3 separate regions of the Homo sapiens genome follow, and regions 2 and 3 are each linked to region 1. Evidence: promoter capture Hi-C in 16 types of primary human blood cells and fetal thymus (Javierre and others, 2016). All regions are on one chromosome and are shown on one strand. The core of a region is centred on a gene start or on the middle of the fragment in contact, and the rest is flanking DNA. Distances in the headings are between cores, read along the strand shown.

Evidence for each region. Contacts are between HindIII fragments. The CHiCAGO score rates a contact against its expected background, and 5 or more counts as called.
Region 2: a fragment that was not itself captured here is called in contact with the fragment with the promoter of PLXDC2 in region 1 in 1 of 17 cell types (M2 macrophages); the score reaches 5.8 in M2 macrophages.
Region 3: a fragment that was not itself captured here is called in contact with the fragment with the promoter of PLXDC2 in region 1 in 1 of 17 cell types (megakaryocytes); the score reaches 5.1 in megakaryocytes.

What each region holds. Positions count from the first base shown.
Region 1 is chr10:19,813,967-19,817,869 of GRCh38, reverse strand. PLXDC2 (plexin domain containing 2) reads right to left here and starts at 1,438. Exons shown (of 14, transcript NM_032812.9): 1 at 679-1,438. The coding sequence starts at 790. It overlaps LOC124902388 (a long non-coding RNA gene), which reads left to right and starts at 1,642. Exons shown (of 2, transcript XR_007062078.1): 1 at 1,642-3,468. RefSeq lists an enhancer at 1,749-2,514. The HindIII fragment of the contact is 8,470 bases long and covers 389-3,903 here.
Region 2 is chr10:20,853,495-20,857,298 of GRCh38, reverse strand. All of the region lies in intron 9 of NEBL (nebulette), which reads left to right. All of the region lies in intron 2 of LOC102725112 (a long non-coding RNA gene), which reads right to left. Among named protein-coding and RNA genes, the nearest start is that of NEBL, 42 kb to the left of the region's middle. The HindIII fragment of the contact is 9,153 bases long and covers 1-3,804 here.
Region 3 is chr10:18,686,482-18,690,384 of GRCh38, reverse strand. No RefSeq gene overlaps it. Among named protein-coding and RNA genes, the nearest start is that of ARL5B, 29 kb to the right of the region's middle. The HindIII fragment of the contact is 3,270 bases long and covers 749-3,903 here.

The DNA.
Region 1 (3,903 bases), core at 189-2,688:
GAACTCTCTGCGCGTTCAGGCCTGTCTGTGAAGCTGGCAGGCGGAGGACAATGGGAGCAGGGGTAGGTCTCCAGAGGCGAGCCCGCCTCCACCTTTCCCACCTGCTCCCCACCTCTGCGCCGGCCGCATTTACCCCGCCCCCCTTCCAGCGCCCGCTTGGCCCAGGTCACTAGACGGAGCTAGTGGGGATCGCCAGGGGAAGGAAGGTGCTGCCACAGGGAATTTTCTCGTGCAGAGGGGAGACCTGCAATCCCTGGCTTTCACAACGTCCCCCACCCACCCCATACCACACACGCTTAGTTTAACCAGCAGCGAGGAAGGAGGAGGAGCCGGAGAGCACACAGCCTGGAGATGCCAGGTCCTAGGAGATGTATCCACGGAAGAAGCTTTGCTCTCACACTGAAGCCCTCCCTGGGCTACTTTGGGGAGACAGTACCACCCCCTGCCGCCCAGGTGAAGTAAGCCCGAAAGCCTCAAGAAAACCCCTAGTCCCCGGCGTCCTTCTCTTGATAACCCTCTTTCCCCATTTGGGAAGCCTAAGTTTAGCCGAAAAGCAACTGCAATAAGTTTCCCAAGGGCAGATAGGTGATGTTGGGGGGAGAGGGTAGGGAGCACGAGAGTGCCAGAGAGGTCTTCAGCTGCGCACAAAATCAGCAAGCTAAAGTGCATCTTACTTACCAAGGATTTGGTCTCCGGGTTTCCCATCGGCGAACTGAAACTGGTCCGTGAAGAAGTGGCAAAGTAACATAACTCCTGCAGCGGCCAGGTCGGCCTTCGGGAACCTCGCCATGCCGCCGCCGCCACCTCCCTACCCCACCCGCCAGTCCTTCGCCGGTGCTCGGGGGCTCCCGATGCAATAGGCACGACCGGGCCAAACGCTGCGGATCGGTCTCGGTAGGACCCGGAGGCCTTTGTAAATGTCGCTGCGATTTCACAGTAGGGAACCGAGAAGAGGAAGAAGCGAACGCGAGTAGGAGCGCAGCGCTCTTCGGACCTCTGAGGCTCTCTTTGCAACTTGCCACACTCGCAGCCCTCACCCGACACTGAACAACAACCGCGGGGAGGAGAGGCCACTTGCAGCCGAGGCTCGCAAACTGTCGGTTCCACTCGGGCAGCGCCAACCCGGTGCCCGCGGACGGTGACTTCCGAGCCCCAGCGATGCGCTCCACTGGGTTCAAAACAGATCTAATTCCACAGCCAGCGCCGCTGCCTGCCCCAGATCCACTAGGGCTGGTCGGCTCTGCAGGAACTTTCCTCTGTCTAGGGATGGCCCCGGCAGGAGGTTTAGGTTTGCGGGAAGGAGGTTGATGACGAAACCCTCCCGACAAGTTTTGCTTCTTTTCTTCGCCCGACGCAGGGCGCGCGTCCTTTCTCGCAGCCGGAGGAATGGGCAGCTCCAAAGAGCTGAGCCCTGGGAAGGTTAGGGCTGCAGCAGTCTGAGGTCCGAAGCCAGGAAAAAAATGTGTTTAAAAAAAAAAAAAAAAAAGAGGAAGAAGAAAGGAAAAGGGTGGAGTGGGAGGGAGTCACGCTGGAACCTATCGGGAGAGGGTTCCTCCGGGCTCAGGAGGAGGTGGCCCCAAGCCCCCGCGGAGCCCCAGGAGTTTGGTGGCGGAGGAGGCGCTGCCGTCGCCACGCTCCCCCGCGCTCCTTCTCCACACTTTGAGGAGGGAAGGCAGCTCGCAATTTGCCAGATCTGCCGCCGCACCCTCCTCCCTCCTCCCTCCGCCCTCCCCTTCGCTCCTCCAGGCTTCTCCCACCTTCCTCCCTGAAACCGGCAGCCCGCACAGACCTGTCCAATGGCTGCACTTTCCTCGGGGCTGGCTGAGGAGTCGCGGCCAACAGATTAAGCCGGGGGAGCCTAGCGAAGGGGAGGGAGAGGGCCACTCCAGCCCCGTGCGCCCCAGGCAGCCGGCTGCCCCAGAGCGCGGGGAGAGGGGACAGGCCGGGGAGCTATCGGGGGAGCGCGGGGCGGTACCTCCGCGCCGCCGGGGCGCCATCCTCGCAGCCTGCTCGCACGCCCTGGGCAGCTCCGCCAACTGCGCCCCACACCCACCTGGCTCCCGGGCCGCCTTCGCGCCCGACTGCGGGGGGCGATCGCGCCCCGCCCCGACCCTGGCGGGGTCTCCCTGGGCACGAAAGGGTTAACCACAGCTCGCCCCTTCGCGGAGGCTGGTTCTGGTAGTGGCTAGGGAGTGGAGAAAGCAAACCAGAGCCGGTTCGGTTACCGACTCTGCGAAGCCCCCTCGACCCCAGCCCAGCGCGGGAGGGTGGCGGAAGGTGGTGCACCGCAGCGTGGTCCCCGCCGCTGCCGCCGCGGCTTTGCAAAGTGTCAGCGGGGGCGAAAGCGAGAGTTTAAAGGAACAGGAGGCCCATTGAATTTCCTACCGGAGCTTTCAGGGGCTCTGGCTCCCCAGTTTGTTTTTGTTTTTTCAGCTCGGGGATCTGTTTCCGCGTTAACCCTTGCCGGCCCTCTCGTTAGTTGATATCTTATTTTGCATACAGTTAATCATTTTTGAAAGGGATAAATACAAGGAAAAGAAGCAAAGCGCTATTGGTTAAAAGTACAGGATCTAGAGCCCGGACAGCCTGGGCTGGAATTTCACCTCCCCCGCAATGAGCAGTTTATCTCCTAGCCTCAGTTATCCATCCATCAAATGGAGAGAATTAGAGTAACGCCCTTATAAGGTGGTTGCAATGGATTGGATGAGTTAACTGTATATTTAATAAATATAGAACATTGCCTACCGCAAAGTACATGGCTTTGTTTAAGTGTTTACTGAAGCAAAAGTGAGAGAAGACGACTTCAATCACATAATAAATGTGCATGTGTTCTAAGTTCAAGGTCCTTTCCACTCCAAGCTCTGAAGAGTCTATGGATGCTGTCAATAGATGTCTCGGCTTGCCACAAAACCCACTGGAAGTGGATCCGGATAATCAATCTACCTTTGCAAATGTGATGCTCAAAGGACGGCTCTCTCATGGGAAACAAGAAAGGTTTCCCTTAATCCAATACTCAATTTGCTCTTTATTTCCAAACAACAGATATACACGTATAAACACAAACATATATCATGCCTATACTCTTTATTATGCCAGGACCCTGGCTCTTTCCTGAGCTTTCCTCCCATAGGTTGATTTCTACTTAGGTAACTGGGTTTTTCTATTTCTGCTTAACTAGGAGTGTTTAAGTTCTATGTAATATTACATCCGAATTTGAGTACCCGGATATATACCTGCTTAAAATCAAGTTTGAAAACTGAGTCTTCTCATCAAAACCTGATTGTGCGGTTGACCCTTGAACAACAGGGGTTTGAACTGCGAGGATCCGCTTTTGCATGGATTTTCTTCCTCCTCTGCCACCCCTAACAGAGCAAGACTAACCCCTCCTCTTCCTCCGCTTCAGCCCACTCAATGTGAAGACGATGAGGATGAAAGCCTTTCTGATGATCCACTTCCACTTAATAAACAGTAAGTATATTTATCTTCCTTATGATTTTCTTAACATTTTCTTTTCTCTAGCTTACTTTATTTTAAGAATACAGTATGTAATATGTAGAACATACCAAATATGTGTTAATCAACTGTTTTTATATTATCAGTAATGCTTCTAATCAACAGTAGGGTATTAGCAGTTAAGTTTATGAGGAGTCGAAATTATACATTAATTTTCTACTGTGTGGGGGTCCGTCCCCCTGACCCCCATACTGTTCAAGGGTCAACTATAGTTTAATTGATGCCGATTCTTTTTGAGGATCATAAATCCATGCGGAAAGCGTCCCAAAATATTCTGCACAACTCCAGCTCCCATCATATCTAAAATAATGGGGAATCCAGCGGAAACCATTTCAAGAAAGCACCTCTTTTTTCAGACCGAGTTATTTCTCCTTCTTTCACAGTAGAAAA
Region 2 (3,804 bases), core at 1,049-3,548, 1.0 Mb before region 1:
GATACAGCTTCAGGTCAATTTTAGAAATAATCTATACTTGGCTTCAGTGTTTTGAAATGTATGTTTATTATTTTGTAAGCCTCCTTTCTGGAATATCACTGCCACTGTCTTCCTTCCTTAATGGTATTATGCATGCAAATAATTCATACAGAGTTTTTAAAAGTTTATTTTTTTCTGGCTGGGCATGGTGTTTCATGCCTGTAATCCCAGCACTGTGGGAGGCGGGTGGATCACCTGAGGTCAGAAGTTCAAGGCTAGCCTGGCCAACATGGTGAAACCTCGTCTCTACTAAAAATACAAAAATTAGCTAGGCGTGGTGGTGGGCATCTATAATCCCAGCTACTCAGGAGACTGAGGCAGGAGAATCATTTAAACTTGGGAGGTTGCTGTGAGCTGAGATGGCACCAATGTGCTCCAGCCTAGGCAAGAGTGAGACTCTGTCTAAAAAATAAATAAATACATAGAATAAAATAAAATAAAAATAAATTTATTTATTTTTTTAATCATTGGTCCTTGGATGAAAAGCAGTACATTAATGTTCCCAGGCTATTGAACAGGGAATGGAGGTTAGAGGAATATCTGGAGGGCCCAGAATTGGCAGTCAGTTCCAGGACACTTACATCATGCTGGCTTGCACTTCAGTCTTCATTCCCACACCTCTTTTTACATTCCTCTATTCCTTGAGTGTCTCTATTTCTGTCTTTTTTCTCCACGACTCATAGATATGCTTCTAAAATTGATATATTTCTATTCCCTGAGCCCCCTGCTTTCTTCACATTCATTCTTTGGCATCCAGTTTTCATCATGGCAGTGGCATTTGCCCTTGACCTTTCTCTAGCCATACTTAAATTCAATTTCCTAGGGACATGGGGATTCATGTGTAAATAAGCCAATAAAAATATCATGGTGGTAATTTCAACATTTGGTGGCTGGAAGAAAGCGTGCCACTCCTATGCAATATTGCTTTTCAAGAACGTTGACCTTTATTTTATAATAACAGAGAAAAAAATCGCAGTCTAATATAAATTGTTTCTATCATCTCTTCAACAGAGAAAACACAGCAAAGTCATACGTTACTTATTTCATGTATCATATATAAAGTTTAGATCTTCATTTAGGTGGTGCTTTTGCCTAGAGGACAGATTTCTTTTTCCCCATAGACAAATTGTGATTGACTACTTCCTGGGAGAGAAAGACTTAAAAATGTGTTCCTTTTGAAGTGTCTCCTTACAAAGTTGTGTACATTGTATAAAGCTGTATACATTTGCTCAACTTTATTGTATATTAGAATGGCCTCCTTTATCTAGCATTTGTGAAGAAACAAAGAATAGCCTACTTTAACATTTTAATGTAAAAAATTGGAGTTGTGTTGATTTATAAATTAAAAGATTGAATAAGATTGCTCAATAAGAGATATTCTGCCAAAATTATCCATTTGTCACAGTAGCTATTGTTTTAAAGACCCCTAGATGTCTTTAGCAACATCAGAGTTACTTTTATTTTAACCCAAACTCTAAAGAGTGATATGAGTGCCTTAATTACTGTGTAAAATCATTCTAATTAAAGTTTTGGAAAACATTTTCCCCTGGAAAATGGACCTCTGGTAGTGTTGAGTTTCTTTCACAACTTTACATAAATTAAGAAATATATATTTTGTGTTACTCCGTGTATCTCCCACTAGGAGGTAGCAGAGACTGTTATATAAGGAAAGACACGCATTCGAAGTTCTTTTGCAGATCTTAATTCAATTAAGTTTTCCTTCGTTTTTTTTTTGTTTTGTTTTGTTTTCTTAAATAGGAGTTTCTGAAATTCTTTGTAACTAAAATCGATAATTGTGTTGGGAACAATATTTACTGAATTTTTCAGTATATATTCATTATTTTACATATATTTATATGTATTTGTTGTGGATTTTAACTCAGTAATGGACTATGTTGTAGCTTGTTACATTCATGATTATTTTATAAATACATATTACAAGATAACTTCTAATCAAATTATAAAGTCTGTATTATTATCTTTCTTTCCAGATTTTAACTGGTTAAAAAAAAAACACTTTTTTTTTTTTTTTAAGACGGACTCTCGCTCTGTCTCCAGGATGGAGTGCAGTGGCACGATCTCAGCTCACTGCAACCTCCGCTCCCAGGTTCAAGCGATTCTCCTGCCTCAGCCTCCTGAGTAGCTGGGACTACTACTACTAGGTGCACCCCACCACTCCCAGCTAATTTCGTATTTGTAGTAGAGATAGAGTTTGACCATGTTGGCCAGGGATGGTCTAGATCTCTTGACCTCATGATCCGCCTGTCTCTGCCTCCCAGAGTGCTGGGATTACAGGTGTGAGCCACCGCGCCTAGCCAAAAAAAGGCTTTTTTAAAAAAACATTAGAGGAGCCAAAATTTATAACTTGTTTCCTTCCATCACGATGTACTCTGTGGGCTAGGTGCAGTAGCTCCTGTCTGTAATTCCAGCATTTTGGGAGGCCAAGGCAGGAGGATGGCTTGAGGCCAGGAGTTTGAGACCAGCGTGGGCAGCGTAGTGGGACCCTAGCTCCACAAAAAATAAAGAAATTAGCTAGGCATGGTGACATGCACCTATAGCCCCAGCTACTTGGGAGGCTAAGATGGGAAGATTGCTTGAGCCCAGGAGGTCAAGGCTGCAGTGAGCCATGATCCCTCCACTGCACTCCAGCCTGGGTGACAGAGCAAGACCCTGTCCAAAAAAAAAAAAAAAAAAAAAAGTACTATATGAACATTTTCATGTCCTTCCTGGGGGGTGCTTTCCTCCCTGATTTTATTCTGGTTAGGTTTGGGGGAACATATATTGCAGCTCCCTAATTGAGTGGAAGCACCTGAGGCCAGGCTCCCTCTGGGGACTATTGCTTTGTCCCACTAGAAAGGGTAGCTCTCTTGTGGCAGGCCACTTGGTCATCTGTTCCATTCCTAGCACTGAGCTTTCTTCCTCTTTCACTCTGAAATCCCTGGAGTATCCCCTAAGATCAAAATGCAAATTTCCTTATGGCCAGCTCTTTCCCGCTCCCTTTCAAATACTGTTTTTGGATCCCTCCACTCTATTGCCATTTTTACTGGTACCCCATTGTCTAATAAGCAGCTATCTTTAGCTTCTTAAGTCTCTGTAGCCTTGAGTCTTTAAGAGCTACCATTTACTACTAAAGGTCTTTTCCAAATAAGGCAAAATAACAAAGTGTCCAATCTCCAATGATAGAAATCATGAAATAATTATTTTTAAAATTTTCTAATTTATAATTGTTATTGATACATAATGGTTGTATATATTTATGGGGTAAATGTAATGTTTTGATACAGGCATACAGTGTGTATTGATCAAATTAGGATAATTGAGGTATCCATCAGTTCAAGCATTTGTCGTTTCTTTCTGTTAGGAACATTTCAATTCCACTCTTAGTTATTTTAAAATGTACAATAAATTATTGTTAACTATGGTCACCCTATTGTGGCATTGAATACTAGATCTTAAACTCATTCTCTCTAACGGTATTTTTGCACTCCTTAACCATCTCCACTTTATCTCCTCTCCCCACCACTCTTCCCAGCTGCTGGTAGCCATCATTCTACTCTGTCTTCATAAGTTCAGCCTCCCGAGTAGCTGGGGCTATAGGTGCATGTCACCATGCCCAGCTGATTTCTTTATTTTTTGTAGAACTGGGGTCTCACTATTTTAGCTCCCACATATGAGTGAGAACATGTGAAATCTGTTGTTCTGTGCCTGGCTTATTTCACTTAACATAATGACCTCCAGTTCCATCCATGTTGTTGCAAATGGCAG
Region 3 (3,903 bases), core at 1,134-3,633, 1.1 Mb after region 1:
ATCTCCAATAGCAATTGTATTCAGAGACAACACTGCATTATATGATAAACTATTATAAATAAATGATAATTGCTAAGGGATCTGATTTGAATTCCATTTTTCAGATACAATGAATTCAAACTTCTTAATAACTAAGCCAAGTCTATTCTAGTCTATTTGAAATAAACTCTTAAAAAGTTTATTTTTGAAATTTCTATGGGGAAAAAAAATTGCCAGTAAACAAATTTGCAACATAAAGGCAAGTGCGACAGTGTATTTCACCAGTAAACACATTTGCAACATAAAAGTAAATGCGACAGTGTATTTCACCAAATAAGAGGGTAATTTTCAAGGACTACAGCAACATTCACTGGGCAGCAATAATAAATATCAGTTAATGAATCTCATCTACCCTTTAAAGCCAGTCTAGTGGGATCTATATTTTGGCAAAGTAATTAGCAATGTACTCAAGATAGCATAGCTTTGATTATCAAACATTCTGAATTTTTTTTAAAAAATTATTATTTAGATTTATCATTTGTGTACCTAGGCCTATTCTTCCTGTGACTTTAGGCTGGCGAGGTGTTATCTGCACAAAGAAAATTTTAAATATGTATTCAGTTACCAAATAACTTTAAAACTTCTGTAATAAGAAACGTTCAAATAATAGCGAAGAGGATTCAACAGTGCAAAATAAAATCCTATTCTGCCATCTAGAGGAAACACACTGTCTAGAAAACTAATTTACCTCTTGATGGCCCCTGAAGCTTAAAGTTAGAAGAAATATTCTGTTTAAAAAGAGAGGGGAGGAGTTGTGAGAGGCTGGGTATTTTTTTCTATGCCACCATATCAGGTTTTATCAAAGAGAAGAAAATAATATTTCAAAAAGCACTTTTTAAAAAACAGCATTCACCTGTCTTCCTCTTCTGAGTCACATTTAAGTTATATTCATATTTAAACTCCTCTGGAGTTCTTTATTAAATGACAAACAAAAAAAAAAGAGAGAGAGAGAAGGAGAAGAACAAGAAGATCAAGAAGAACAAGGTCAGCTGGGTGCGGTGGCTCACACCTGTAATCCCAGCACTTTGGAAGGCCGAGGTAGGCAGATCACTTGAGGTCAGGAGTTCGAGACCAGCCTGGACAACATGGTAAAACCCCACCTCTACCAAAAATACAAAAATTAGCTGGGTGTGGTGGCACGTGCCTGTAAACCTAGCTACTTATGAGTCTGAGGCAGGAGAATTACTTGAACCCGGGAGGCCGAGGTTGCAGTGAACCTAGATTGCACCACTGCACTCCAGCCTGGGTGACAGAGTGAGACTCTGAACAAGGTCAAGAAGAACAAGAAATACATCCCTTAACTTACCGTGACATGGGTTTACTGACTGTCAGGACTAGAGAATGGAAAAAAGGAGAAGGCAGGAGAGAGAAAGAGAATGATGAGAAGGAAAAGGAGGAAGAAGAAGGCAGTGGGAAGAAGAGGAGAAGCAAGAGGGAAGAAAGGAAGAGGAGAGAGAAAAATGAGGAAGAAGAAAATAAGAAAGAGGAGGAAGAGGAGAGAGAGAGGATGAGAAGGAAAACAAACCCCAAAGCCTCTCATTTACTGATTACATATTTTATTGCTAATGCTTCAGCTTAAACTATCTTTTGTGATTGTTTACATTGTAGTTTTCTAATACCATATTAACATTTTTTTCTTTTTTCTTTTTTTTTTTTTTTTTGATGGTTTCTGGCTCTGCTGCCCATGCTGAAGTGCAGTGGTGCAATCTTGGCTCACTGCAACCTCCTCCTCCCAGGTTCAAGCAATTCTCCTGCCTCAGTGTCCCAAGTAGCTGGGACTACAGGCACTCACCACCATGCTCTGGCTAATTTTTGTATTTTTAGTAGAGACGGGGTTTCACCATGTTGGCCAGGTAGATCTCAAACTCTTGACCTCAGGTGATCCGCCCCCTCAGCCTCCCAAAGTTCTGGGATTACAGATGTAAGCCACCGCACCTGGCCCAGATTTTAAAATTTTCTTAGCTAATATATACCTACTGTTAAACAGTATTATAAACTGCAATATATCTGTTACAGGTACATTGTATTTGATTTTCAGAGCATATTACATATATGATTTTTTTAAAATCAGGAACGACTTCATAACAGAAAGGAACATTAAGAATAATCTATGTCAGCCGGCGGTGGTGACTCAATGCCTGTAATCCCATTTTGGGAGGCCGAGGTGGGCGGATCACCTGAGGTTAGGAGTTTGAGACCAGTCTGGCCAACACAGTGAAACCCCGTCTCTACTAAACATACACAAAAATTAGCCAGGTATTGTTTTATTTGTTTATTTCTTGTAGAGATGGAGTCTTACTATGTTGCCCAGGCTGGTCTCAAACTCCTGGGATCAGGCAGTCCCTCCCACTTCGGCCTCCCAAAGTGCTGGGATTGCAGGCATGAGCCACCAGGTTGCTGCACAAGCCATCTGGCTTGTTCTCCTGTTCTCTTTCTTGATCAGTGTACTGCTGACATGCATAGTTTCAATTTGTGAAAATTCCTGAACTGTCCACTTCTGGAATGTGCACTTTCCTGTACCTGTATTACCCTTCACGTTAAAAACTCGCAAATAAAATGAAAAGTTAATTTGGGGAAAGAAAAAAAAATGAGCTGTCAAGCAATGAGAAGACACGCGGGAAGTTTAAATGCATATTACCATGAAAAAAGCGAATCTGAAAAGGCTACATACTGTATGATTCTAACTATATGACATTCTCCAAAAGGCAAAATTATACAGACAGCAAAAAGATCAGTGGCTGTCAGGGGTTAGGTGGAAGGGAAGGAGGAACAGGCAAAGCAGAGGGATTTTAGAACACTGAAAGTATTCTGTATGATATTATAATGGTGAGTGCATGTTATTATGCATGCGTCAAACCCCATAGAATCTACAATACCAAGAGTAAACCCTATGGACTTTGGGTGACGATGACGTGCCCTGTAGGTTCTTCAGTCATAACAAATGTACCGCTGTGGTACAGGATGTTGACAGTAAGGGAGGCTGTGTGGGGGTGGGAGGGAATGGCAGATGGTATATGGGAACTCTTTATACTTTCTCCTCAATGTTTCTGTGAATCGAAAGGATAAAGCCTATTTTAGTCCAGGCGTGGTGGCTCACACCTGTAATCCCAGCACTTTGGAAGGCCGAGGTGGGCAGATCATGAGGTCAGGAGTTCGAGACCAGCCTGGCCAACATGGTCAAATCCCATCTCTACTAAAAATACAAAAATTAGCCGGGCATGATGGCGAGTGCCTGTAATCCCAGCTACTCGGGAGGCTGAGGCAGGAGAATCGCTTGAACCCAGGAGGTGGAGGTTGCACTGATTCAAGATCGCACCATTGCACTCCAGCCTGGGCAACAAAAGTGAAAACTCACGTCAATAAATAAATAAATAAAATAAAAATTTAACAAAATAAGAGTAAAGTCTGTTTTTTAAAAAAGGAAAGGGGTATCCCTGGCAACTGTTTGATTCTGCATTCTCCCAAACCTGCTTGCTAAGGATATAAAAGGCTTTTATTCACTCTCAGGATATTCCCAGTCACCCCATTTGTTGGGTGGGGTTTGTGTCTCATTAACTCTCACCACTAGCCTGGAGATAAAGTAACCTTAAAAGCTGGATAGGGCCAGGTGCAGTGGCTCATGCCTGTAATCTCAGCACTTTGGAAGGCCGAGGTGGGCGGATCACTTGAGGTCGGGAGTTTGAGACCAGCCTGGCCAACATGGTGAAAACCCACCTCTACTGAAAAATACAAAAATTAGCCAGGCGTGGTGGCACATGCCTGTAATTCCAGCTACTCGGGAGCTGAGGCAGGGGAATTGCTGGAACCCAGGAGGCGGAGGTTGCAATGAGCAGAGATCGCGCCACTGCACTCCAGCCTGGGCGA